2 separate regions of the Homo sapiens genome follow, and region 1 is linked to region 2. The links are contacts of gene promoters, found by promoter capture Hi-C in human tissues and cell types (Jung and others, 2019). All regions are on one chromosome and are shown on one strand. The core of a region is centred on a gene start or on the middle of the fragment in contact, and the rest is flanking DNA. Distances in the headings are between cores, read along the strand shown. Region 1 holds the start of RBM5 (RNA binding motif protein 5). Region 2 holds the start of BSN (bassoon presynaptic cytomatrix protein).

Region 1 (7,235 bases), core at 3,532-6,031, 530 kb after region 2:
GCCCGGTCTCAATGAGCTGTTGGGTACACCTCCCAGACAGGGTGGTGGCCGGGCAGAGGGGCTCCTCACTTCCCAGTAGGCGCGGCCGGGCAGAGGCGCCCCTCACCTCCCGGACGGGGCGGCTGGCCGGACGGGGGGCTGACCCCCCCCACCTCCCTCCCGGACGGGGCGGCTGGCCGGGCAGAGGGGCTCCTCACTTCCCAGTAGGGGCGGCCGGGCAGAGGCGCCCCTCACTTCCCGGAAGGGGCGGCTGGCCAGGCGGGGGGCTGACTCCCCCACCTCCCTCCCTCCCGGACGGGGCGGCTGGCCGGGCGGGGGGCTGACCCCTCCACCTCCCTCCCGGACAGGGGCGGCTGGCCGGGCAGAGGAGCTCCTCACTTCCCAGTAGGGGCGGCCGGGCAGAGGCGCCCCTCACCTCCCGGACCGGGCGGCTGGCCGGGCGGGGGGCTGACCCCCCCCACCTCCCTCCCGGACGGGGCGGCTGGCCGGGCAGAGGGGCTCCTCACTTCCCAGTAGGGGCGGCCGGGCAGAGGCGCCCCTCACCTCCCGGACGGGGCGGCTGGCCGGGCGGGGGGCTGACCCCCCCACCTCCCTCCCGGACGGGGCGGCTGGCCGGGCGGGGGGCTGACCCCCCCACCTCCCTCCCGGACGGGGCGGCTGGCCGGGCGGGGGGCTGACCCCCCCACCTCCCTCCCGGAGGGAGCGGCTGGCCGGGCAGAGAGGCTCCTCACTTCCCAGTAGGGGCGGCCGGGCAGAGGCGCCCCTCATCTGCCGGACGGGGCGGCTGGCCGGGCGGGGGGCTGACCCCCCCACCTCCCTCCCGGACGGGGCGGCTGGCCGGGCGGGGGGCTGAACCCCCCACCTCCCTCCCGGACGAGGTGGCTGCCGGGAGGAGACGCTCCTCACTTCCCAGACGGGGTGGCTGCTGGGCGGAGGGGCTCCTCACTTCTCAGACGGGGCGGCTGCCTGGCGGAGGGGCTCCTCACTTCTCAGACGGGGCGGTTGCCAGGCAGAGGGTCTCCTCACTTCTCAGACGGGGCGGCCGGGCAGAGACGCTCCTCACATCCCGGACGGGCGGCAGGGCAGAGGTGCTCCCCACATCTCAGACGATGGGCGGCCGGGCAGAGACGCTCCTCACTTCCCAGATGTGATGGCGGCCGGGAAGAGGCGCTCCTCACTTCCTAGATGGGATGGCGGCCGGGCAGAGACGCTCCTCACTTTCCAGACTGGGCAGCCAGGCAGAGGGGCTCCTCACATCCCAGACGATGGGCGGCCAGGCGGAGACGCTCCTCACTTCCCAGACGGGGTGGCGGCCGGGCAGAGGCTGCAATCTCGGCACTTTGGGAGGCCAAGGCAGGCTGCTGGGAGGTGGAGGTTGTAGCGAGCCGAGATCATGCCACTGCACTCCAGCCTGGGCACCATTGAGCACTGAGTGAACGAGACTCCGTCTGCAATCCCGGCACCTCGGGAGGCCGAGGCTGGCGGATCACTCACGGTTAGGAGCTGGAGACCAGCCCGGCCAACACAGCGAATCCCCGTCTCCACCAAAAAAATACGAAAACCAGTCAGGCGTGGCGGTGCGCACCTGCAATCGCAGGCACTCGGCAAGCTGAGGCAGGAGAATCAGGCAGGGAGGTTGCAGTGAGCCGAGATGGCAGCAGTACTGTCCAGCTTCGGCTCGGCATCAGAGGGAGACCGTGGAAAGAGAGAGAGAGGGAGACCGTGGGGAGAGGGAGAGGGAGAGGGCTAGAAAAGACAATCTTAAAGGACTATCCCTTATTGAACATATGTGGCTTTATTTAAAACAAAGAGCAACTCACTCTGATGTCTTTCTTTTTCTTACATCAGCTACCAGACAGGCCTTTGGCAGCAGAGCTCTGGAGCTCAACAGGCCAATGTCTAAAAGAAGATCAGCTACCAGAGATAATTTGGAGGATGGCACTTACCTATGGATGAAATCCATCTTTTTTTGCCAGGGACCTCTTCAAGTTTAAGAATTATTTTGCAGGCTGGGCATGGTGGCTCACGCTTGTAATCCCAGCACTTTGGGAGGTTGAGGCAGGAGGATCGCTTGAACTCAGGAGTTCGAGACCAGCCAGGGCAACATGGTGAAACTCCATCTCTACCCCAAAAATACAAAAAATTAGTTGGGCATGGTGGTGCACACCTGTGGTCTCAGCTACTCAGGAGGCTGAGGTGGGAGGATCTCTTGACCTGGATAGGTCGAGGTTGCAATGAACCGAGATCATGACATTGCACTCCAACCTGGGTGACAGAGTAAGACCCCGTCTCAAAAAAAAAAAAGATTATTTTGAGGTTTGTGAATAGCTATATAGCTTTTATGACTGGTGGTAAGCCCAGCTCAGCAAGCACCTCAGGAATATCCAAAGGTGCTTGTTGAACTGCTTTGGGGACAAGGCAGGCAACGGCTAGTGGCTATGAAGTCTAGTGAGTTCTAGATTCTTGGCATCTGCATCATCCATTGTAGGGTTTGCAGTGATGTCATCAATGTTAACTTTTAAATTTCATTAATGCATGTACTCTTTTCTGATATTTTGCATATATGCTTCCCCATAAATTGTATATATTTCCTCTCTAAATACACACACACCACATATATTATATTTCTACCTTTTCGTCTATATATGTATTGTGTATATACCTATATATAGATATATACACTGACATCCCTCCACTTATTCTTGAAAGATTTGTTTTCCAGAGAGAGAAGAAAATGGTATAGGCACAGTTTTCTGTAACTGATGTATAACTTTCTGTAACTAATGGTATAGGCACAGTTTTCAATTTGTATGACCTGAAAAATCAGTTCTGGCTGGGTGCGGTGGCTCATGCCTGTAATCCTAGCACTTTGGGAGGCTGAGGCAGGTGGATCACCTGAGGTCAGGAGTTCGAAACCAGCCTGGTCAACATGGTGAAACCCCATCTCTACTAAAAATACAAAAATTAGCTGGGTGTGGTGGCGGGTGCCTGTAATCCCAGCTGTTTGGGAGGCTGAGGCAGGAGAATCACTTGAACCTGGGAGGCAGAGTTTGCAGTGAGTTGAAACTGTGCCATTGCACTCCAGCCTGGGCAACAGGAGCAAAACTCCATCTCAAACAAACAAACAAACAAAAATGTTTGCAAAGCATCTAGGGCAATAATATAGCATCTAGTAAAGCGATCAACTAATGTTCCTCATTTTAATTTATTTTTTATTTTTATTTTTTTTTGAGATAGAGTCTTGCTGTGTTGCACAAGCTGGAGTGCGGTAGAGCAATCTCGGCTCACTGCAACCTCCGCCTCTTGGGTTCAAGCGATTCTCCTACCTCAGCCTCCCAAGTAGCTGGGATTATAGGTGTGCGCCACCACACCCAGCTAATTTTTGTATTTTTAGTAGAGACGGGGTTTAGCCATGTTGGCCAGGCTGGTCTCGAACTCCTGAGCTCAGCTGATCCACCTGCCTCGGCCTCCCACAGTGCTTGGATTACAGGCATGAGCCATCATGCCTGGCCCCTCCTTTTTATTTATTTATTTATTATTATTATTATTATTATTATTATTATTATTATTATTATTATTTTGAGACTGAGTCTTGCTCTGTCACCCAGGCTGGAGTGCAGTGGCACGATCTCAGCTCACTGCAACCTCTGCCTCCCTGGTTCAAGTGATTCTCCTGCCTCAGCCTCCCTAGTAGCTGGAACTACAGGTGCATGCCACCATGCCCGGCTAATTTTTGTATTTTTAGTAGAGACGCGGTTTCACCATATTGGTCAGGCTGGTCTTGAGCTCCTGACCTCGTGATCCACTTGCCTCGGCCTCCCAAAGTGCTGGGATTACAGGCGTGAGCCACTGCGTCCAGCCTTTTTTTTTTTTTTTTTTGAAACAGAGTCTCACTCTGTTGCCCAGGCTGGAGTGCAGTGGCGCAATCTCGGCTCACTGCAAGCTCCGCCTCCCGGGTTCACACCATTCTCCTGCCTCAGCCGCCCAAGTAGCTGGGACTACAGGCGCCCGCCACCATGCCCAGCTAATTTTTTTGTATTTTTAGTAGAGACGGGATTTCACCGTGTTAGCCAGGATGGTCTCGATCTCCTGACCTTGTGATCCGCCCGCCTTGGCCTCCCAAAGTGCTGGGATTACAGGAGTGAGCCACCGCGCCCAGCACCGGCCTCCTTTTTATTTTTTAGCGACAGTTTCTCGCATTGTCCCCAGGCTGGAGTGCTGTGACGAGATCACAGCTCACTGCAGCCTCGACCTCTTGGGCCCAAGCGAACCTCTCACCTCAGCTCCTGAGTAGCTGGGACAAGAGGTGCACGCCACCATGCTCAGTTAATTTTATTTTTTGTAGAGATAGGATCTCACTGTGTTTCCCAGGCTGGTCTCGAACTCCTGGCCTCAAGCGATCCTCCTGCCTCGGCCTCCCAAAATGCTGGCTTGTGAGTGAGCCACCACTTCACGCACGGTCTCCTTTTGAAGTAGAATTAGACAATGTTTTACACCGTGCCAGTGAAAGCAAACTGTACTCTCTACGGCGCTAGTAGCAAAAGCAAAGAATTATTAACATGCCTAATAGGAGCCCTAAAAACTAATCCAGGTCTGCAAAAGCCGATCGACAACTCTGTAGTGATTTAGAAGAGAATTGCAAGACATTAACACAGAGCGTCCTAAGTGACAGGATGGTCTGGCGACCACATTTCCCGGCAGCCCTCGCACAGCCAGGCCGCTTCGAGGATTGGACTTCTCCGCAGGAGGCGGGTGACAGGGGGAGGGGATAAGCGTGAGGTACTGTGGGTAGGAGACGGCCGTCGGCGGAGGCGCCATTTTGTGTAGCCGCCGAACCTTGTTGGAGGTTCTGGGGCGCAGAACCGCTACTGCTGCTTCGGTCTCTCCTTGGGGTAAGTGCGGCGGCTGTCTGTAACGACGGTAGGTTCTTGCCATTTGGGCTGGCCCCCAAGCCTCCCTTGTCAGCTGCCGGAGGCGACTGATCAGCTCCAGCCGGTTCTGTAGAGGGGCTAAATTACCCCAGGCGTTGGAGGGCCGCGCCCTTCCTTGTTGCCAGCTCTGTCAGTTTCCAGAGGGTGTCCAGCCAGCTCAGCCTTGGGCCTGCTTCTTTCTGGCTGTGACTTTGCCCCTTGTGGATACACGTCCCCTAATCTTCAGCCCAACGGAGCAGTGGAGCCGTCGCCTGTCCCTCGGGCACTCCTTGGGAGCTCCCTGGCAGTCTCTGGCCGCCATCCCCCGCTCAACTGCAACTGAATCGCCCTCTCCGAAAAGCTGTTCGGTGATCGCCCATCTGCGGGTTTGGAACCTCTTGGGAGGCGGGAGGGGCATGTGCGGGGAGGGCAGGCCGGACGCTGGAGTCGGTCGAGCAGGCCGTGACGCCGCCATCTCGGCCGCGAGACCCCACGGAGGTGGGTGCCGGCACCGCCCGGGAGACAAGGGGCGGCACCAGTGAATATGCCCCGGGACTTGTTTCCCCCCAGTGGTTCTTTTTCATTTATTAATTTCAACAAATCGTTGAGCATTCGCTCTAGACTAGGCTTCCAGAGACTACTGGAACTGATTTTTCGGACCTCGCGCTCATCGAACGCGGTCCAGCAGTGTGATGTCTTATTACCAACGGGGGGCGGGGGGCCGGGCTGTTCACTACTCAGTGGTTTGTAGTCATAAGAACTGGCTCAAGACGTGGTGGTTATTGTTACCTAGGAATTAGGTCGTTTCTAGCTTTGCTCTTGTCTTATGCGATACGTTATTAATGTAGTAGATTTCAGTCAGCTCAGTATCCCAGCTTCTACGAGGTTTTACATTTTTCATCAGAAGTGTTTGAATTTCATGTTGCTCCTTGTATTAATGAAGACACTTGGATTAATGTTTTAACGGTCAACTATCCCACGGAGTTGCTTTGATACAAAACCAAGGAGCTGATTGTAGCTCTGCCCTTTTTGCTTTGTAATTCTAAGGTAGGAGCAGGGAAGGAGTCTTCTGCTTGCTCCGTATTATGATTCTGTTAAATCTGGAATCTAATATTTTAAAATATGCTTAATCTTCCGGTTTTGCTCATTGTTAACAAAATGTTAGCACGATTTTAACGTTGACAGTTTGTCCCCACCACTTCCCCACCTTAGATAATCACTGTCAATGATTTGAAGGTTTGATGAAATCCCAGCCTCAGTAGTATCCAAGCTATGGAGCTGCTGACTTAAGTGATCTCTGAGATTTATAGCAATTAATCTCTCTTGTCTCCTAGAAAAAATAAAATTTGAACCTTTTGGAGCTGTGTGCTAAATCTTCAGTGGGACAATGGGTTCAGACAAAAGGTAAGTTACTACAGTACGTGGCTTTGATCTCAACATTTCAGTGGGGACTGAACTCCTTGTTTAAAATAGTTTATCAAACTAATATATGAGTGTTTTGCGCCAGGCATTGCTAACGAACACCTTTATGATCCTGTTGTCACAAACTACAGTCTAGTGAGAGAATTAAAGTACTGTGTGAACATGCTGTGATAAAGTGTAGGGTGCTCTTAGAACACATAGGAAGTATGTCTTTTTCTTGTTCACAGCCAGGAAAGCTTCCTGGAGAAAATATTCTCTGGAAGGAAGCTGAAGGATAAGAAAGAATTTTAGGCAAAGAAGGGCAGGGTAGAGTGGGTCACTGAAGGTTCCCTGTGTGGACAGCAACCTTTGCAGAATCCAGGAGATCATACAGTCTGGCACTTAGCACAGTTCCTGGCTGTGGTAAGCAATCAATGAATGCCATTTCTTGTTATTGTTCCCTGAATAGCAAGATGATCCAGACTTAGAGAGCTGAGAAGCTTGGGACTGTGTGTTACATGAAGAAAGAAAGAGCCAAAGAATTAGTGGAAAATTAAGATGAGAGCATTTGGCTATTGTGTCACCTATGGGTACATGCTCTCAGACCATTTGATTTAAACACACACCCTTATTCAGCCATCTGCCTTTTTAGTATTGAGGTCAGTCCCTGTGGTAGATCACATTGACAGGCTGAGGGACCTTAGGAGATGTTCATGTCACATGGTATTTTAATGCTGTGTCAGCAGTCTGTGGTTCTAAATAGCTTACTAAATTAACATTTACCCCTTTGGGGTGTCTCAGTCCCATATTTCCTTTGATTCTTTTTATTAAATTTGTATATTCTAAATGAAGCCCTTATAAACCTTTCCTTTGCCTTATGATTGCACAGCAGTTTTATGAATCTGGTAAACAGTTTACAAAAGG
Region 2 (7,334 bases), core at 4,695-7,194:
CGATCTCAGCTCGCTGCAACCTCTGCCTGCCAGTCTCAAGTGATCCTCCCGCCTCAGCCTCCTGAGTAGCTGTGACTACAGGCTTATGCCACCACACCTGGCTAATTTTGTATTTTTTGTAGAGATGGGTTTCACTATGTTGTTAGGCTGGTCTTGAACTCCTGGGCTCAAGCCATTTGCCCACCTCAGCCTCCCAAATTACTGGAATTACAGGCATGAGCCACCGTGTCTGGCACTATGGACCTTTCTCCTTGCCACAAGGCTCTTGCTTCACTATCAGGGACTCATTCCCTACCCCATTCTATCTTTCCTGGAAGGCAGAAGCTTTTCCAGTGGCTTCTGGGAGCTCCCTGGGCACTTGGTAAAGATGATAGAACAAACAAGCCCCTACTACAATCCATTCTGATTAGGACAGAGATAGAGCTCAGTGGAGAGAGTGGCTATGTCCCGTGGCCTGAGATTCCTGATGGTAAAGGGTGATTCTCAGAAGTGTCCTTGGGTTTGCAGTAGAAGAGCCACAGAGGAGTCGGGAGGTAAGGACCTCTCTGAGAGACTTCCCTAAAGACATGCAGAACTGAGTCTGATGGAGGGGCTGAGCAAGCTGCTCTTTCCCATGAGCAGTCAGAGTCATGCCTGAACCACTGTTGGCTGGGGTAGGACATGTGGGCTGGTCAGGAGAGGGCATAAGTGCATGACTTTCCACCCGGGCCTGTTCTCCCCCAATCTATGAAACAGACATGGGTGGGGGACATGATCACAATAGAGATTCTGGTGACATTTTCTGTAGTTTATTGGAAATAATTTGTGTGCCTATCACTCTCTTCCTGCAAACAGAACTCCTCAAGGGCAGGTCTCACAGTCTTCTCCAGGCCTGGCACTGAGTAGGAGTCAGGTATGCACTGGCCAAAGGAGGATGACTGCCTGCATGCATGAGATAGGCAAAGCCAGCCCAGAGGCTTGTCTAGGGGAACACAAAGGAACAAGGGATGCAGGATGTTTTTTTCTTTTTTTTTTGAGATGGAGTCTTGCTCTGACGCCCAGGGTACAGTGCAGTGGTGTGATCTCGGCTCATTGCAACCTCCGCCTCCCGGTTTCAAGCGATTCTCCTGCCTCAGCTTCCTGAGTAGCTGGGAGTACAGGCGCCCGCCACCATGCCTGGCTAATTTTTGTATTTTTAGTAGAGACGGGGTTTCATCATCTTGGCAAGGCTGGTCTCGAACTCCTGACCTCGTGATCCGGCTGCCTTGGCCTCCCGAAGTGCTGGGATTACAGGCGTGAGCCACCACACTCGCCTGGGATGCAGTATGTTTTGACTTGGATGCTTATGACTTGGAGGAACCATGTCTTCATTATTTTTTCTTGTCATAACAAGCCTTCAGAATCATGTAACTCTAATAGCAATGGGCCTTAATTAGCTTTCTTGGGAGCAATGCATGGGCAGTGGGGTTAGGCTGGTGGCAAACATTTCTGACAATTTTTTACCGCCTTTTTTTCATATAATGCAAGCAAAGAGTTGCCAGTTGCAACAGCAAAGGAATTATGTAGGCAAGGCATCAAGCAAATTCTGTACCTTCCAGCCTTATTCCTTTCTCCTGCTTTACCAAGGGCCATGGCCAGCTTAAGACCTCAGTATACAATTGAGGTTGTCCAGGCCAGCCCAGGTAGGCTGCTGAGCAGAACGAAGATACAATCACTTGTTTGTAGCCTCATGCCAGCTTAAGGCTCGCTTAGGGAACCACCTTATTCTCTATGTTAGTGGGCAGTGCCAACAAATCTCAGCCAGGAAAGAAAGCCTCTGTTTCTTTGGGCTTCCTTCCTTCCTCTTCAGTTCTGTTTCTCTCTCCCAAAGAAGGAGTGGGGCAGGAAGCCAATTTCCTGAGTTGCTTTTCATTGGGAAGTGAGACAGGCCTCAGCAGCACTTTAGCAAAAAGAAGGGTGCAGAGTTCAAGGAGCCTTGTAGGCAGGAGACAGGTCTCTCAGCCTCTCTGGAATAGTCCAAAGTCCATGGCATTATATCCTCTAGATACAGCCTGTCCTGTGTCATCCTTCTCTATTGTCTTCCTCCTCTGATCTCTCTAATGCCTACTCTTGCCTGCAAAGTTTGCCATTCTTCTTCACCCCCATAGACATCTTCATCTTTGGATCTCGTGCCTCCCCACGGAGGCTGCCATGCTGAAAGGATCAGCCCAGGGTAAACTGGACTTATGGGGAAGCAGGGAAGAGTCTGAGCTCTACCCCTTCTCCCTTTCTTGGGGATGACCGGCATGATGCTTTGCCTACGGCACAACTACACCTCTGGGTGTAGTTCCTGAGGTCCTGTCATCTCTTCATTCTTCCACGATTTGCCTTCTGGTGACTAATCATTTCTACTAATCCCAGCAGTGAGTTGGCTCTGATTGGGCCTTTTCCCACATGGATTTTTTTGTTTAGTTTTGTTTTTTTGAGACAGGGTCTTGCTCTGTCACCCAGGTGGGAGTGCAGTGGCACCATCACAGCTCACTGCAGCTTCAACCTCCCAGGCTCAGGTGATCCTCCCACCTCAGCCTCCCGAGTAGCTGGGACTACAGGTGCATGCCACCACACCCAGCTAGTTTTTGTATTTAGTAGAGAAAGGGTTTCGCCATGTTGCCCAGGCTGGTCTTAAACTGCTGAGCTCAAGCAATCCACCTGCCTTGGCCTCCCAAACTGTTGGGATTACAGGAGTGAGCCACTGTGCATGGCCCTGGATGGCTTTTTGTTGTTGTTGCTGTTTTTTCTGATTCCATTTTCCCTCTGGTCTTCTACAAGTGTCTGAGAACATAGGCTGGAGAAGCAAGCTGGCACATGTCTGTTGGTTCCATTTAGGCATGTGGATTGATTGTCCTCTCATCTGGCCATCTCCAAAATGGCTGCCATGTGTCACATGTTATGCTGAAGTGGGAAGAAGATATTTCAGCAAGTGAAGCTTAGGGGACTGGGAAACTCCTGCAGGGTCTCTAGGTCTATCCTGTCCCTGGTGGGGCAGCAGTTGGACCCAGGAGGACATGATACTTGACACACCACACAGCTGGCTTGCATAAACTGAAAGATTTGTTTATTCATTTGTCATAAAGCATAGTCAAGCCTAGTGAATTTTCCTGGATGAGTGAAGAGAGCTCATCAACAACCCCTCCATGAGGAGAAACCAGATGCAATCCCAGCACTCTCCCTGTTACTTATTAGCTCAGCAGCTAAAGCCAAAGATCTCTCTGAGTGCTTTTAAGCCTGGTGATTGGTGGGCCCTTTAGAAGCGCAGGTGAGGGAAATGCTCAGAGCGTCATGGAGAAGCCAGCACAACCATGAGCCCCAGAGGGCCTGCTGAAGGCCAGCCCAGGGGATAGGACCAGTCAGACAAGGTCCTGCTGTTGAGGAGCCCCAGTCTAGATCAAAAGGAGGTAAACAGCCTCTGGGACAGTGAATGGAAATGGGAGATTGAATCAGAGCCCCAGATAACCAGAGGCCAATACCATCCCATGGTCCACAAGAGTCCCTGGGCTGAATGTCAAGGGTGAATGAACACAGGGCAGGCATGTTCCTGGGGATGCTCCTCAAAGGAAACAGAACTGGGAGAGTTTGAGAGGAGAGGAGGGGCACCTCTAACCCACATTTTCAGGTCTCCTGGGTCCACTGTGCTGTGCCCTTTGTCACCAGGGCAGCAAAGACCCTGGAGGTCTGCTAACAGCCAGGAATCCACTCTGAGGAGGGCAACTCCCCAAGCCTGCAGGCTGGGTAGAGCTAATTAACCACACAGGAACCAGAGGCATGTTGATTTAAATCTGTGGAAAGCCATAGCTCCTGTGGTTTCTACAAAAACAAAAAAATAAACATCCTTTCCCCTGTTTCAAGTAGCCCAACCCACACTGACTGGGGTCTGTGAAGCTATAACAGCCTGGGTTGGGACAAGGTCAGGCCACTGGCCTGCCCATAGTGTTTGTGAGCATATTCTTCCCCAGGAGGAAATATATGGCACAAGACCGCCACATCCCAGACCATCACCAGGGAGACAACTAATAACAGAGTTGTCATAAGTATACCAGGCACTTGTCCTGGTGTTTTACCTACATCAGGCTGGGTGCATTGACTCATGCCTGTAATCCCAGCACTTTGGGAGGCCGAGGTGGGAGGATCACCAGAGGTCAGGAGTTCAAGACCAACCTGGCCAACATGGTGAAATCCCATCTCTACTAAAAATACAAAAACTAGCCAGGTGTGGTGGTGGGCACCTGTAATCCCAGCTACTAGGGAGGCTGAGGCAGGAGAATCATTTGAATCCGGGAGGTGGAGGTTGCAGTGAGCCGAGATCACACCACTGTACTCCAGCCTGGGTGACAGAGCGAGAGTCTGTCTCCAAAAAATAAAAATAAAAAAAATAAAATGAATAAAAAATAAAATATCTACATCAGCCACTCTACCCTTACAATCCCCCATATTCGAGGAGCTACTAAGATTCTAACTTTGCAGAATAGGAAATGGAGGCTCAGTGAGCCTAAGTCAGTTGCCAAGGGTCCTATCGGGGCTGAGGTGCAGACTCTTTTGGAGCCTAAATGTGCACATGTAGTCACCACTCACGAAGCTGTATCAAACATCCTGCAGCACAGGAGGAAACACAGCAAGGACCATCATCTGCAGGAAGAGAGGCTCTCTTCATCCTAGGTCATCCCAGAGGGGCCAGGCAGTTTAGCGTGAAAACGGGAGGTATGAAGTCAGGAGAAAATATCAGGAAGTGGGGGCTCTGCATTTCCTCTTTCTCTTACTTGCTCCATCCCAGAGGTCGGGAGGAGCAGCTCGGAGTGCACAGGGGAAGGCCCAGGGAGGGTCCTGGCCCCTCCTCACAAGAACTGACACAGCCACCGGTCTGTCCAGCAGGCTGGCTATCAGCATTCACTGGGATCCCTGGATTATTCTAGGTTCAGTTAGAACTGCTAACACCCTATGTGATATATTTCGCAACATTAGGAGAATTGAATGGGTTTGTAAAATGGGTTCAAGTTACTCACGCCTTTCTACACAGTCATGATTTATGACGTCAGAGATGAACTGGAATATAGGCTCCTAGGAAATATTCTCCCACAGGAAAGTACAGGCTTGTGTGAGAAGCCACCACGGCAGACAATCCTGAGTAGCGGGCAGAAACCGGCTGTAAATGTGAGGGAGCGGGGAAGTAATTTGGAAAGCTCTCAGGGTAATGCAGAGGCAACCTGCGGCCCCGCATCGAGACAGCTCCAGGCCTGAGAACCATCAAGTCCTCTTTTCCATCCCCAAGGTCACTCTCCCAGGGCTGACTGAGGTGGCCTCCCAGCTGGCTTCACACAGCCCTGTCACACCTTCCATCTGTGCCCGGGGCGCTTCCTGAGACTCCCAGTTCCTCAGTGTGAATCCCAGATGGTTCCCATCGCCATCTGGATAAAGGCTCCACTCCCCAGCTGGCCTTAAAGACCCTCACAATCCGGCCCGACCACCCAGCACCCTCCCTCTCCTTCCCTCTACGACCTTGCGTCTCTGAATACACTTGTTCCTCTGCCTTCCCAACTCCTATGCATACTTTTGAGGCCATTCTCGGGTAGCCCCTCTCCTCTCCGAGGCCTGTCCTTATGACGCCTGCCCGCTGTGGCACTCCGGTTACCCGGAGGAGAGTTGCTACTCTCGAGTTCACCGAGGCGGAAAGCCCCTCTGACTCCAAAGCAGGGCTCAGCGCGACGTCCCAGAGGCCGCTTCTAGTGGCAGGTGCCCCTCCTCACAGGGCCCTCGCAGCCCCGCCGGCCCCCGCCCGGCTCCTTCTCAGCATGATACAACCGCGTCGGCCCTGGACAGCGCATGCGCGGGCGCCGGCGGCTGTTTCCCAGCGACCCCGAGGCTGGCGGGAGCGCGCACAGGGGAAGGGGGGCGTGTGCAGGGAAGGGGGCGCGAGACGCGCATGCGCAGCGGCAGGCGGCGGCGCGAGCCGAGCTGGGAGATGGCGGCGGCAGCGGCGGCGCCGAGAGTGTGAGCACCGCCCGGGAGCCGCCGGCCCGGGCGCAGCGCGACCCCGACCCCGCCCGCCCGCCTGCCCGCCATGGGCAACGAGGTCAGCCTGGAGGGCGGCGCTGGCGACGGGCCGCTGCCGCCCGGCGGCGCCGGCCCCGGCCCGGGCCCCGGCCCCGGCCCCGGCGCAGGAAAGCCGCCTTCAGCACCGGCCGGTGGCGGACAGCTCCCCGCGGCGGGAGCAGCGCGGTCGACCGCGGTACCACCGGTCCCTGGCCCCGGCCCCGGCCCCGGTCCCGGCCCTGGCCCGGGCAGGTAAGCGCGTGTCTCGGCGCCCGGGGGGCGGTGAGCTGCAGCCTGAGGCCGGGACCCGGGCCCAGGATCCCGCGATCTAGTGTGGACAGCGAGGTTCGACGTCCGGCCGCACTCTGAACCCTGCCGGATTGGCGTGAACTGGGTGGTCGCGGGAAGCGGCCCTTCCTTTCCAGCTGCCCCGCCTTGGCGTGGCAGGATGACGAGCGCAGGGTCAGTCGGGGCCTGCAGACCGTGACTCCGTCACGAACCCCAAATTCGCTTCTCCCCAACGCTCGGGCCTGACTGCTCAGGAGGGGCTTATGTAACCTTAACCTGGTCCCTCCGCACAGGAGAGCAATGGGATGGAAAACGTCCTCCCTGTCTGCTGGTGTCTGCATGTGTCCATTGTGCTGGGCCGAGAAAACAGCACAATGGGAGTGGCTGTCAGGGAAGATAAGTGTCACTGCGAGGAACAGAGAGATGAAAATAGTTGAACCATGAACTTGGTCTTGGGCTTTCCTTGGGCATTTAGTGGCTGTAATCACCTTTGGGGGAAAGGAAAATTGCCCACTGGACACCAAGAGGTGCTTATTTAGGCCCAACAATACTAATAGGATCATGTGCTTTCACCAAGGTTTAGGGAAACATTTTGGGGTGAAGCAAAAATGCTATTGAGTCATCCAGCACCAGATATGTTCTCGTTACCTTATGATTTAGATCAAACCAGTGGAAAAGCTGAAACCCACACAGAATGCTTTAAACAGAACATATCTGATTAAATACTGTGAAACCAGTTTGTTTTAAATGTATGCCAACCCAGGTCCTGCAAAAACAGTCAAGTGGCAATGAAGGCTGTAAGGGAATGCCAATATATAATAAGTCAGTAGACTGAAAACTCAGGAAAACTACTAAGAGATGACACGATAAAATGGAAGGCATTATCTTTGCACCAAATAGGCTTGGGGAGTAGCAAAACCCCCAGGGGGTGGGAGGGAGGTGCTTCCAGCTCCATGTGGGTCTGCTGATATATGTTGCCCTGGCTTTTCTGTGTGGAAGCACAT

Evidence for each region. Contacts are between HindIII fragments. The study calls those that stand out against the background at their distance.
Region 1: the fragment with the promoter of RBM5 here is called in contact with the fragment with the promoter of BSN in region 2 in 1 of the 25 tissues and cell types used here (bladder).

Annotation. Positions count from the first base shown.
Region 1 is chr3:50,084,138-50,091,372 of GRCh38, forward strand. It overlaps RBM5 (RNA binding motif protein 5), which reads left to right and starts at 4,782. Exons shown (of 25, transcript NM_005778.4): 1 at 4,782-4,892; 2 at 6,245-6,314. The coding sequence starts at 6,298. RefSeq lists enhancers at 4,639-5,230, 4,750-4,919, 4,960-5,069, 5,231-5,821. The HindIII fragment of the contact is 21,518 bases long and covers 1-7,235 here.
Region 2 is chr3:49,548,533-49,555,866 of GRCh38, forward strand. It overlaps BSN (bassoon presynaptic cytomatrix protein), which reads left to right and starts at 5,945. Exons shown (of 12, transcript NM_003458.4): 1 at 5,945-6,294. The coding sequence starts at 6,071. BSN-DT (BSN divergent transcript) reads right to left here and starts at 5,834. Exons shown (of 3, transcript NR_038866.1): 1 at 5,509-5,834; 2 at 5,016-5,155; 3 at 774-2,910. RefSeq lists silencers at 5,753-6,052, 6,123-6,332. The HindIII fragment of the contact is 7,009 bases long and covers 1,635-7,334 here.